Regions from separate parts of the Homo sapiens genome. Here region 2 is linked to region 1. The links are contacts of gene promoters, found by promoter capture Hi-C in blood cells and fetal thymus (Javierre and others, 2016). All regions are on one chromosome and are shown on one strand. Each heading gives the region's core, a stretch centred on a gene start or on the middle of the fragment in contact. The rest is flanking DNA. Distances are from core to core; before and after follow the strand shown. Region 1 holds the start of ABHD10 (abhydrolase domain containing 10, depalmitoylase). Region 2 overlaps PHLDB2 (pleckstrin homology like domain family B member 2).

Region 1 (7,157 bases), core at 386-2,885:
GATTATCCTACTTCATCTTTTTCAAATTTTCCCCCATTATAAAATCTATACTTGCTCTTAAGAAACAAGTAGATATTTTTTTAAAAGAGTCATTTATAATCCCACCTCTTCTTTCCAAAGACACTAGTTTTGTGTACTTCCTTAGAGTCTTTGGACTAATACATTTTCTTTTTTTATATTAAATGAAGCCGTCCTCCACTTTGAAAACTTCTCAGTCTTGAGAAGAGAATCCATGTGTGCTGCTAAAGTTTTCCCCATTTTGTAATTAAGAAGTTGATTTTTTAAAGATGTAACTGAAGGCCTTAAAGTTATCCTTTTTACATAAAAGCTTGTTTCAAAGTATAGAGAAATATGCCAAATTTAAAACTTTTGGTAAGGACCAGTTATGCTGATCCACTCATGTTCATTTCCCATCTACTCAGCTGAGCACTAAAAAAAATTCTCACTATCCTCTTCCAGAAATCACCTCTTAAAACATAATTTCCCCGAGATGATTATAATTTATTTAATGTAAGTTCTAAGTAGACAGATTCATATAATTATATTCATAAATCATCTTTGAACATAAGGATTAATTCAAAGCCTGGTGCATAAGTGCTCAATGAATAAGTGCTAACTAGATGAAATAATATTATACTCTGGTTAATGAATTGACATACTACATTTTACTAGGAGTATTTGCATGTGTAACATGCCTTTTGGTTGCGCACAATTAAATGCAAGTTAATCTGATTATAAAAGTTTAAAAACTGGATACAAAAATCTCCATACAAAAGATCTCTGCCGTGACATTAATTACCACTCCAAGCACCATGCATCATCTGACAGCTACGTGGCAATGGTGTGAACCACACACAAAGCCAAAAAAATAAAAGGATCTAATTCAAAGACTATATATACATATAAGAGGTTCTCTGATTTTTAGCCCAAATTCTAGTTTCCTTTGTGCAATAATGATTATGGTTCTTTCACTGAGTGGGTGCAGCAAGAAAGCAGAACTAGAAATTAGGCTTATGAGGGCGTCTACACTTTTACAAAGAACATGCCTCGCATTGTTAGGTTCCCTAAACTCAAAGGAGAGTCAGTCTAAGCATTTTAGGAGTCACAATCTACAAATTCCTAGAAGTAACTAATAATAATGCATTAAATGCACATTTTAATTTTTTCTAGTGTTGGCCTTTAATGCAGGGGAGGCAGGTAAGGAGCAGGAGCTCTTTAAACTGCACAGTGTAAAACGCCAGCGAGGGCCCGGGGTGCCCAGAATGCCGCAGGGCCGCGGCAGAGCTCTCCTCACAGCCTTCACCAGAAGTCTACAAAGCGCCTAGAACTGGGGTGTTGAGAAAGGGGGAGGAGCATTTTTGAACCGGGCGCCAAAGACGCACTGCACAGGCACGGTAACTGACGGAACCCGAGGCGTTCGAAAGAACGCATCCTACTCCCGCCTTTCGGACACTGACCTGGGAGCCACCGTGGCGCCCGCTGAGGTATCCGTGCAAGCAGCACGCTGAGGCCACGGTGGGGACCGAAGGGGACGGCTGCCCAGCCCCAGCTCCGACAAGGTACCCAGGCCGCCACAGCTGCCAAGCGCGCAACCGCCATCTTCGTAGTTGTCCCCGCACCCTGCAGTGTCCCACTGAGGGACACGCTACGCAACGGAACCGAGGCTGCGCATGCGCTTCAGGCTGGAAGGCGGAACTTGCTAAAGAGCTCCCCGCAAGATTTTCAGCTTGCGAAGAGCGCACATGCGCAGAGCGTCGTGGCTCTTTCGTTTAGACTGTTGGTTCTACTAGTAGCGGGGTTTGGCTTGGGGCCTTTAAGATGTTTTGAGTGGCGTCGGGAGGCTGCCCTATCAGCGGGCTGATAGATACTACAGAGCTGGAAGCTCAGAAAGGAACCCTATCCAACGGTCCTAGATGGGAAACGTCTCCTGTCGAGGACACCAGGCTTGCTGCATCACCTGCAATCCCGCCGACCGCGTGACAGTTTTAACCTGTACTGGAAATGCTCCCAAGATCTGACATTAATCTCGCCTGTATAACCTGGAATGGTATCGGACATTCCCCGCTCTAGATCTATATGCCTGATTAACGAAATACTGAATTATCTTGGCCCCCTCCTCGTGCTATATGCGAAAATAAATTTCAGTAAAAAAAGATTTCAACGGAAGAATACAACTGAGAGGATTAAATAAATTTTAGGAGAATATTATATAATCCGGGGACAGAAGGGACTTTCTTAACCAAGATTTCAAAACCCCAACATCATAAATAAAAAATATATTTGTATACGAATTTAAACTTTTTGAATGGCAAAAGACACCTCAAGTTAAGAGCTTAGAAAAATGGATTTTGTAGCATAGATACATTAATACTTCTACTCAGCCTGCTCCTATAAATAAGAAATATAATTCAAATAAAATTGGCCAACAGCTATAAATAGGCAGCCCATATAAGGAAACATGATGCTCAAACTCACTAAATGAAAAACTGGAATTAAAAAAATAATGCCTTTTTCCCCCCATTCAGTTGGCAAAAAAGAAAAATAATTGGCAAGGATGCTAGACACTAGCACTTATGTATGATTGCTAGGAAGGTGAATTACTAAAATTTGTTGTGAAGTAATATGGCCACATCTATTACAATTTTAAAATATGCATCCATTCCAGTGCCTTTTAACGCAGTGGCACCAATTTGTGATTATCCTATAGAAAAACAACACTAGTTCTTAAGACTGCATATTATCTACTACACCGTTTTTAGAGGCAAAGAGAAGGAAAAAAATGGGAATGGCTAACAATAGAAAAATAGTTGAATAAATTGTAGTACAAGGGTTTCCGGACTCCAGCTCTAAATACCTTTCAAACTAATTCCTGGGGGCCTCAAGCATCAACCATGGAGTTTTACGTAGTAGTTTCCTATTTAAAAGTTATGGTGGCTTGTGTAATACTTTGAGTATATATAAGATAGTAAAGTAACTTTTATTATCCTGGTTATAAATTTGGGGGGCAGTAATTGGTACCAGAATTAAAGGCAAAGTTTGGATATAGTGAATCCAGCATGTCTTTGGAGTCGTGAGAACCTGGACTGTTGGAACAGTCTGGAACAGTTAGATAAATAAAGACTGAATAGATCTCTTTCTTGAGAGGTGGGATGCCTCTCTCTACTAAGGACATATAGTTAAGGACAGCAACTTGATTTCAGGACATACTCCAAAAGATGCTGAGCTATGTTGCCCGTTCTCCATTAGACCTGTTGTAGACTCTAAGGGACTAAATCACTAAGGTGATGCCTGATGCATGTCATTTCATCATCCCTTATATTTCTTTTTTGGGTTTTTGTGTGTGTGTGTGTGTATGTTTTAGACTGAGTCTCGCTCTTGTCACCCAGCCTGGAGTGCAATGGGGCGATCTCAGCTCACTGCAACCTCCACCTCCTGGGTTCAAGCGATTCTCCTGCTTCAGCCTCCTGAATAGCTGGGATTACAGGCACCGACCACCATGCCTGGTTAATTTTTGTATTTTTAGTAGAGATGGGGTTTCACCATGTTGGCCAGGCTGGTCTCGAACTCCTGACTGCAGGTGATCCACCCCCCTTGGCTTCCCAAAGTGCTGGAATTACAGGTGTGAGCCACCGCACCTGGCCCATCCCTTATATCTTAACAAACACTTCTCTCTGCATGTTTTGGATAATTGCAAATATTCTCAATCACTTCTCTCCCTTTTCTTCCCCTTTATTTTTGCAAGTCTTCTTGCATTTTACTTGCAGTAAGATGAAAAATCTGACTGGTCATAGTGGGAAAATCACTGCACAGAAAAGCAGAGAAACCCATGGATTGTTTTCTGTATTCACTCTTGTTGTCTAACAAATTAGAAAAAATTATGGCCAGTAGCAAGTACAGATGCTTTTACGGACAGTGATGAGCTTGAAGTAGACAAATTTGTTTCCACTCTGGGTACCTATTGTCAATGTTGACTTCATCAATATATAAAGGGGGCAAAGGGACATACTGCTGAGGGAAGCTTCTCTCTCTGAAATCTGCTGCCTTAGTTCAGGGGGACAAATGAGATGCCCCACCAAATAAAGCTTTATATCACATTTACATGATTTTTTTTTCGTGTAAGATAAGGATAAGTAAACACACTCCTTGCAATCCCCAGCAATAAATGTATCTGTGTAAACAGACAACAATATGATGTCAGAGTTTTTCAGGGTTCATTTCATTTTGTAAGCAATAGGATGTAACCAGAGATACTTCTATTGGAATACTTCAGTTTATACACTACAAATCATAATGTTAGCACACAACAAACTTTACATAGTTTCTACAACTGTCATTTGCGATTAATTCATCCTCCATCATACTACAGATAGGTAACTTCAAAATAAGAGATGAGTTTATTTTCAAATGTGAAATCATGTCAACATTTTAATCCAAACTCAATATATTTAACACACATATTTAAGAGGCTTACTACATCATGCAATTGGATTAGAACACCTTTACAATCCTATGAAGAGAGTACAGTGCAGAAAAGTCATATCTTTACATTAACCAACAAAATCTTAGCAATTATATTTTAGTCTTACATCACTACAGGGTTTAAAAGTGATCGCTGCAAAATCAGATTTTAAAAATATCTTCCACAATCATGATTTTTGTCCTTCACTGTTCAAGTAAAATCTTGTGTCATCCAGTTGCAAAATCTTATTATTGATAACACGTATACGTGTATACAAACCACACTGCAAATTAACAAAAGAATTGTACCCAGTCAGGCTGACAAAGTTTAATAAAGGGACACTTCTAATCTAATCATTTCATCTTGTAAGTAATATTGTTATTCTCTACATCTATTCATTTGCCATGTTTTAGGAAAGAGCACATTCATACTTTCAAACATGCAAAACATGATAAACTAGAATAAATGGCACTTGAAAAACCATTATAAAAGAGACTTGCCTGAAGTCGTTTCATTTGACAAAAATTAACTAAAAAAAAGGCTAATTGTAAAAAATAAAATAAAATAATACATTATAGAGAATATTAAGTTGAACTTCATTTGCCGTTTTATAGAACTACACCACTTCTGCAAATAAGTATGTTAATTGGTCTGTTCTTTGGTGAAAACAGAGCTATGATTTCATAGTTATGTTGAGGGAGCAGTTAGCAGGTGTGCTCCACAACAAAAAGAAATCAGACAATCTAAAGGACATTGGCTACTGGTTGCCTTTATTCTCAGCACCAGGAATGGAGAAATCTTCAGCAAAACAAGCTCCTAACACCAGATATTCTCTTTATTTAAAATTGTTCAACATGACAGAATGCCTGTTGCGTAACCTGGCTTTTTTTTCTAAAACACACAGCTTTTTGCTCTTTCTTCTTTTACAAAAAGTGGTTTACTACATATATATATACATATATAGTAGCTTACACCAGTGGTGACACTGCAAAGTCAATTTCCTGGGCATTTGATGGCATCAAAATACCATTTTGAAATATACAGAACAATACGAAATGCAGTTCATCACTTGCAGTTACTACTGTTCCACAGAAGTCAGGTCAGCTCTTTGGTTTTGGTGCAGTACTTAAAAAATTAAGGCAAAACTCCTCCTAAAATGTATTTCCCTCCAAGCCCTTATTTGCTTATGTTTACAAAATAACTGTCAACAAAATGCTACCTTTTTTAAAAAAAGCCAGTTGATTACCAATAATGTCAATGCCAGTGATTTGGGTGATAAAGTTATTCTGTATTTCCAAGTACATACAGATATTCTGTAACCTGTTTAGTTTATTTCACCAAATCCGACAACTGATTAAAAACAGTTTATTAGAAATGTTCCTATAAGTGATCCAATTTATCAAAATAGTGTTTTCTTTCTCATGGAAGCTTCAATTATTTTGCTATTTATTATGAAGGTTTGTATTAAAACCCCTTCTTTATTTTTTACAAATAACTTGTCTTGATATGAAAGGAGTTCTGAGTGTTTACAGCTCAAGGGATGGATCTGTTGGGTTTTCTCATCTGGGGTTGAATATGGCTTCATTCTTGTAAGAGATTATTGCCGTCTGCCCTGAAGTGGACTGTTGCCTCAGTTCACTACAACAAGAAGTGAGTGTAACCTTCTGCCCCCGTAACTATAACATCCATCCAGATCCGCATGGCTTCTGGCGATGGGGCTACCATATAATAGATTCTGTCATGAGTCTTGACGCTAAAGGTGAGTAACGGATTAGGACTCTAAAATTCAAAAAAGGAAAAAGAATGTAAAATAAACATCTTAAAATACAACATTAAATAACACAGACATGTGATGACTTCTTCAAAATTTTCAATTTATTAAATTTACAAAGGCGTTACTTTTGCTCTACTATAACTCACACACCTGTCCCAGAGCCTTTTTCAGGATTGACCATTTTTCTGAACAGGAAATCTCAGACAGAACTCATAAATTATTTCAGCAGCTAGTTTGTAAAGCTCTAGCAGGGTACCTAGCTGAGAGTAGGAGTTTAATAAATAGTAGCTGTTATTCTTAGCCCTACTAGGACTTGCTCACGATCCCCCTCTTAACTATATGGTAGCTTCTTTTTAGAACCCTGGCAGAGTCGTTTCGCAGGGTTTCCCAAACCATTATGTCCAGAATATTTCCTCAATTTGCTATGATATTTTTTTTCCTCAAAGAGAACGGCCATCCCACTTACTTCATGTTTACTTTTCCAGCACCATTCTGATCATATCTATCTGTTACATCAGAACATCAATTTCAAACTTCTTAGACTCCAAAAATATTTTTCCCTTCTTAATTATGCATTCAAATTGTAGGAATTTAGAAAACTGATGTTTACCTTATTAGCATTCTTGAGGTGATCATAATAGACTTCTTCAATGGCTTGAAAGTATATTACTCCTTTCAATTTAGTTTCATGCTTGTCTGCAAAGACAGATAAGTGTTAAATACTTTATCGCCACTGAGGAACAGAAAAAATAATAATTTTATTACAATTATAATCATTAAAATATTTACAAAGTATTTAATTTATCTAAGATTAATTCAGAGAACTTGGGCTAGTGCATGAGGCCCCTTCTATCTATACTGGAAAAATAAAAAAAGAAAAGCCATAAAATTACTAGCTGCAAACCGAAGAACGAGATGACTTTG
Region 2 (6,629 bases), core at 3,650-6,149, 120 kb after region 1:
AAAGCAAATACATTTTCAAGATAACAAGTAAGCAGGCCATCACATTTAAGATATTTGCAAGATAACGTTATGTGGGGTAGCTAAGTGTCACCACTGCGTGCCCAAATAATGATTTCTTCATAAAACTGTCAAACCCTCCATATCAAGAATTCCAGCCTCAATTAAAAGGTTAAAATACACACACACACACACACACACACACACACACACACACACACCCCTTAGAAACTTATGTTAAGGAAGAGAGTGGAGGAGCTCTTTAGGTCAAGTTCTTCACAGAATCCTAACCAAGGATCCTGATCAAGTCCCCCGTAAAGCTAGAAGGGTCTTCCTTTACTACGTAATCACCCAGTGAAGTGCAGAATCATGGGATAACTAACTTCAGATACTCTTCTTTAATCACAGGAGTGCTACAGGGAAAAGCACCCTCTGATCTTTTGATCTCAAAGCTAATTTCAAGCAAGAGAATTATCAACCTGGGGATCATATGTAGATAAAGATGCTCTCTCTTGACCCTGAAACCACCTCCGTGGACTTTAACTGGAAGCTGAGGAGAGTGTATGGGAGGGAAACTCTCCGATCTTGCCGCCATCCTGCCCCATCCCACACTACTGATCAAAAGACACTCCCTTAAGAGTAATATTTAATTTTTCCAAAGTAACATTCCCCAGACCTAAATACTTGCTGGAATTCCCATTCCCTAACCCAAGATTTATGAACTGGGAATAGTCAGGGTACAAACAGGCTCACAAGAGGTGGAACAAACACAGGTCAACCACATCTTCCATGTTTGTAATGCATTTCGCTTTACATCACAAATTGAGTACATGAGGCCGGGCTCGGTGGCTCATGCCTGTAATTCCAGCACTCTGTGATGCTGAGGTGGGCAGATCACCAAAGGTCAGGAGTCTGAGACCACCCTGGCCAATATGGCGAAACCCCATCACTATTAAAGTACAGAAATTAGCTGGGTGTGGTGGTGCATGCCTGTAATCCCAGCTACTCGGGAGGCTGAGGCAGGATAATCACTTGAACCTGGGAGGCCGAGGTTGCAGTGAGCTGGATCGCACCACTGTACTCCAGCCTGGGTGACAGAGCAACTCTGTCTCCAAAAAAAAAAAAAAAAAAAAAAAATGAGTGGGTGGGGTAGGTTTCTAAAATATTGTAAAGTAAAAATAATAATTATGATAATATCATATCTTCATTACTTAGCAGCTGATTGTGCAGAATGAGTATTATAAAACACTTAATTTTTCCCTTCCATGCTATCTACCTTTTGACCACTTACTGCTTGAAAGAAGGGAAATAACTTGAACAAGTCAAGATAAACAATTGACTAAGTTTAATTTAATTTTAATCAATGCTTTTTTTTTAATAACTCTGGCCAAAAGATCTAATAAAGGAAATGGTTACGTTAGGATGTTATTTTTATTACAGTGGCCAATCTAGTAGAAAGAACACTGGATAGGCTGCCAGGGAAGCAAGTCAGAAGATCCATCTTAGTTCTGGTTCTGCTAACAGAACTAAGATCTGGAGCACGTCAATTCGCCTGTCTTCATTTTGTTTCAACAGGAGTTTCTCCATACTCAACATGGTGAGAGTGAACTACATGTTCTTTCTGCTCCAACTTTCTGGACTCCCACAGATACTGGTTAAATAACACAGGAGTGCTCATTACATAATGCAGGAAATGGAAATGACCACAGAACAGAAATAGTTTTAGTGATAAGGTGGCAGCTACCTAATTGGGAAAAGATTTCACCGGACTGTTGCCCATGACATTCCAAAGGCATGGTAAATTGTTTTAGCATAACATAGTGGGAAAAAGGCCTGGTCAGAGTTATGGTAATGTAATATAATATGGGTATTTGATTGAGCATGATGTATAAGAAAGGTTTTGTCTGCATTCCCATGGCTTGCAGTTTCCTTAATAAATCTTAAGCTGTTTTTGAAAAGCTACTTCTGCAATGACGTAAGCAGTGAGGCAGCCAGACATCACTTCTCAATCCCCTCTGAATATCTCTTGGCTGTGCGGCACTATTCACACTGGGTCTGCACTGGTCAAAAGAATGTAGGAGCTGGGTTTCTTTTGCCTTTATCTTTCCTTGTTTTAGCAGTAGGGTGGTCAAGAAAGAAATCTTGGAAAACTCTTGTAATCTTTAACTTTTTTGCTATTTCATAGGCTAGTTCCATGAACATACTGCCATCTAGGGCAGTCACATGCAATGTGCAAACAAAACATTCTAAGATGATCAACACCAATTCCCACTGAATTAGCAGCAAGTCTCAGAAAAAGCTGACCTGGCTTAAGGCCATCGATAAACAGTGGCATACACAATATTTTCTTTCCTTTTACTTTGTAAAGTAAGGAAAAGCACTTCATCTAATAAAATCAACCTAACACACTAAACAAGTATCTCCTGTAAAAATCCTCTCAAAAACTTTTTGACTAACCCTGTTACTCTATATCTTATTAATCTGTTTCTTTGTATAGCAATTACCTACAACCTCTAGTTTCCCACACAACAGTAAAATGATTTTTACACTTGGGTTTCTCTTATTGACCACTAGCTGCTATAGACAACTATCTTGCCTTTAAAGCAGATACAGCACAAAGCTCCTTTTCTGCAATGTCTAAGAAACATCCTTAAGCGTCATGAAAACAACTGTAAGCAAATTAACTCCCAGAAGGTTCAAATTCCTGGATGAACATAGAGAGAAGTTCTGCCTTGCTAAATGTTTACTTTGAAGGGATTTGAAAATCTGAGCTAACAATTTTGGTTTCATTTATTTTTAAAAGACAAGTTACTTTAATCAAATCCCAATAAATATTTCTAGCCAACAGTTATTTTTTTAAAAACTACTCCTGTCTCCTCTCCCATCATCTGAAAAACAGTAACAAGAATGGCCAGATGAAAGATGATAATGAAAAGACTGCTACACCCCTTTTGCATAGTACCTGCGGGGGGGCAGATCCCTTAAAAGGGCTATCACTCTTGAGTCATTTCTAAATATATCACTATGTACTTGGCTTTGAGGTGCACCCTTTGGCTAGTTGTCAAAATGATAAGAAACTATCTTAACACTTTTCAGAGGTTTTATGTCTCCCACCAAAGGCATACTAAAAACTTTCCTATATGGCCAGAACCTGTCAGATTTGAGTATTAGATAAAATAACTACCACAGGAGGACAGCTTGGCACCCAGAACTAGAATCTATAATCATGAGCCTAATGGCTAACCATAGCAATGTAAACAGGAGAGTATACATGTTTGTAATTAATCAGGCTATGGTGTACAACTTTTCTGATAATCATAAACTCATTAAGGTAACTCCTTTCTATAAACAGCCATTCACAAATACCATGCTTTTTAAACTCTCCCAAGTAATTAACAATAACTTTCTTTACTATCATTTTCTTTCCCATTAGGTAAACACATGGAATGGTAGAGACTGTGGGTGCAGGAGAAAGTACAATAGAACAGGAGGCTTGCAGATTCTGCCGCTATCTAACCCAGTTAGTTGGTTGGAGGGAAAAGATTCAGATAAGAGGATTTCTAAGGTTCCTTTTACCCCCATAGTTATTTTGTTCTACATGCTGAAAGAATAGCTAAGCTTGAATTGTCTTCTGATTCTTAATCCTAGTTCTATGCAATTGAATTTATATTAGATATCCCCTCATCAGCTTATGAATTTCTCCCACAATTTCCCCAACACTTGCTCATTTCCATATATGCCAGGTGTCTTTTTTTCTTCCATACTCAGGAGGCCTCTGTAATTCTCCCTTCTGTCCAAGCCAGCCCTATCCATTCATGTACTCTACTCTTAACCGATAAGGCAGGGAGGAACAGAAAATCTCAAATGTTCTGTTTTGTACCTGGATTCAAAAGCAACATCTGCTATGTCTGTGGAACCATCTGTTGCCTACTTTGCCATGGAAAGGACAGTACAGGCATCAGAAGTGGAGTGTCACAGGTCATATAATGGAATTACCCCTTTCTGGGACTGGGGCACCCAGGCACGTGCCCCACAGTCTCTATGGCTAATGCCACCCCTCCCCCATCGAAGCATTTATTTATTTTCTCACAGGGAATGGTGCTTTGAAACTTTTACACAAGGTCAGGTCCAGTGTGTTTTGTTTTTTGTTCCCATTTGCCTGAATCTCTATTTTAAAATTTTTAACTCCTGGGTTGTACCTAGAACTTTGTCTGCCCGCCCTTAGCTCGCTTGAGACCTTATGAGTCCTAAAGCTCTGAGTGTCTCAGTTTTTTACATCTATAAAAAGAAGGGGTAGAAATTAAGTGATCTCTGAGGCTCCCTTGTGCTCTAATGCTCCCAAATCCCATGACTTTAATCCATCTCAAAGTTGTCAATGAACACAAGTTCCTCGACCTCTATGGTATATTAAGACTCTAAATGGCAAGGACAAAAGAATCTGCTGCATACAAAACGGCTTCTATGATAAGGGTCTCTTGTTTAACACAGTTAAACAAGTTTCTTGAGGATCCAAATCAGATTAAGATGCCTAATCTTGTTAACCTACTCCCCCAGGCAATACTGTAGTGCAGGGTTTGGGGCTGCATAATTGTTTTTGTGTCCCGTGCATGGCAGGGTGCTTAACCGCATCCCAGGCCTCTACCCACTATATGGCAGTAGCACTCTCCTCCTGTCAGTTGCTACAACCAAAAATACGTTGCCAGTATCCTCTGGGGGCCAAAACCCCTCTCCCAGTGAAAACCACAGCTCTAATGTATGTCAGGACTTTAAGATAAAGCACATCACTTAGGTGTTTTTGTTTCAAAAGAGTGACATTTACACAATCAACAATTGGTACACCAAGACTTTACAGATAGATTCATAAGGCACAGGTACTCCACCTAGAAAATGTACAAAGCCACTGTCACTCTAAGCCATCCACAGCACCATAGCACTGCCTCCCTGCTAAGGGTTGAAAATCAGGATATAAAGCCATAACGTTAACTACTCCTTTAAAAATATTTAAAAGGAGACCGGGTGTGGTGGCTCATGCCTGTAATCCCAGTACTTTGGGAGGCCAAGGCAGGTGGATCACCTGAGGTTAAGAGTTTGAGACCAGCCTGACCAACATGGCAAAATCCTGTCACTACTAAAAATAGAAAAATTAGCCAGGTGTGGTGGCAGGCGCCTGTAATCCCAGCTACTCGGGAGGCTGAGGCAGGAAAATGGCTTGAACCAAGGAGGCAGAAGTTGTAGTGAGCCGAGGTAACTTCTCCAATGAACTCGAGAGTCAACCCTTGCTTATAGATCTCAAAATGGAGCTTTGAAGAAAATAGGGAAAACCAGAGATTGGTTAATCACTTTGGCTTATTTTTTCCTCTCTTGCATACACAACAAACACACATGGTAAATAAAACGTTTCTGGAAAGGTTGCTAACGAGTTTCAGCTTGGTCACAGTTATTGAACGGAGGAGTAAGCAAGCTCTCAGTCCAATTTCCCAAGTATCTTTTCCTCCCCTTTTCAAACAGGGATCCAGGCGACACTCGTGGCAGACGATCTCAACACCAAAAGAACAGCAGCTGCCAGCTGCATAAAACAGATTGAGGCCTGCAAATTGACTGAAATGATGACTACTCTTAACCAGACATCTCATTTTTCCACTTCTGACAGGCTGAGATCTGCAAACCTCTGGGTCTCAAGAGATGAAGGCTACATTAGCCAACTAAGACGACAAACTCAACTCTTCCTTGTCATTAAATAATTTGCCAGTTATAAATGGTTTGGTAACTTTACAGAATTTAAGTACATGTAATGTTTAAATTTCCCCATTAAATGTAAGAGGCAAAGAAAATCCTTTTAAATAACTAAGCAGAGGATATGAAAGGGGAGCCAAGAATAGACAGAACTGTTACTTTTCAAAGAACCTTCGCTCTTTATTCAAACAAATATTTACACAATTGAAGGCAACGGCAAGAGAGATATAGCCATTCTGTTAAAATAGTGGGCAACTCTAACGGTTTATTTATCCCAAATCCGACAGTTCTGTTGCTAACCTACCAGGAACCAAGAATTCAAGTGTTCACAGGGCAAAAGTTTAACCTTCTGAAACTGTGGACCTCATTTAGATCTCTCCCAGCCGAATTCAAACGTTAGAATCCCAGAGACATATCTCGAACGCCCAAATTAAACCAAACTAGGAAGCTTAAAATTACACGTCCAATACTTGAAAACCTACATCTGTAACTTACACGTTCATATTACGAAGGGAAATGTGGCTGACAAATATTTACACTAAAAAGACTCCACATTTTTATGCCTCGTCTAGTTACACTCCCAGCTGTGCCTGGCTATGACTAGTTGTGCATTCTAGAGCTCTTTAGAGCTACTTCAGAGTTGCAGGATAAAGATTTCTAGGGAAGAGGGCAGGGCCAGGCGCCCGGAGGATTTCCAGCCACGGGTAGTTTACCGAGAGAAAAAGCTGCGGGCGTCGCTCCCTCTTTTACATAAGAAAGGTAAGTGAGGAACCGCGAAGCAGTTTGACTTCTCAAGCTCTTTCAAACAGGAAACCCCAACCCTGGGAGGGACAGCCTGTCAGCCTTTTAATTTCCTGGTGGTGGCGGGAGTTAGCCAGGTCCTCGGCGCTTTAATAAGT

What was found. Contacts are between HindIII fragments. The CHiCAGO score rates a contact against its expected background, and 5 or more counts as called.
Region 2: a contact is called between a fragment that was not itself captured here and the fragment with the promoter of ABHD10 in region 1, in 1 of 17 cell types (endothelial precursors). The highest score is 9.9, in endothelial precursors.

The regions. Positions count from the first base shown.
Region 1 is chr3:111,973,504-111,980,660 of GRCh38, reverse strand. ABHD10 (abhydrolase domain containing 10, depalmitoylase) reads right to left here and starts at 1,635. Exons shown (of 5, transcript NM_018394.4): 1 at 1,458-1,635. The coding sequence starts at 1,599. PHLDB2 (pleckstrin homology like domain family B member 2) reads right to left here. Exons shown (of 18, transcript NM_001134438.2): 17 at 6,844-6,929; 18 at 4,144-6,238. The coding sequence ends at 6,098. RefSeq lists enhancers at 1,396-1,445, 1,466-1,515, 1,526-1,575, 1,434-1,993. The HindIII fragment of the contact is 3,690 bases long and covers 331-4,020 here.
Region 2 is chr3:111,860,520-111,867,148 of GRCh38, reverse strand. All of the region lies in intron 1 of PHLDB2 (pleckstrin homology like domain family B member 2), which reads right to left. LOC105374040 (a long non-coding RNA gene) reads left to right here and starts at 6,333. Exons shown (of 4, transcript XR_924333.4): 1 at 6,333-6,489. RefSeq lists an enhancer at 6,451-6,560. The HindIII fragment of the contact is 2,563 bases long and covers 3,618-6,180 here.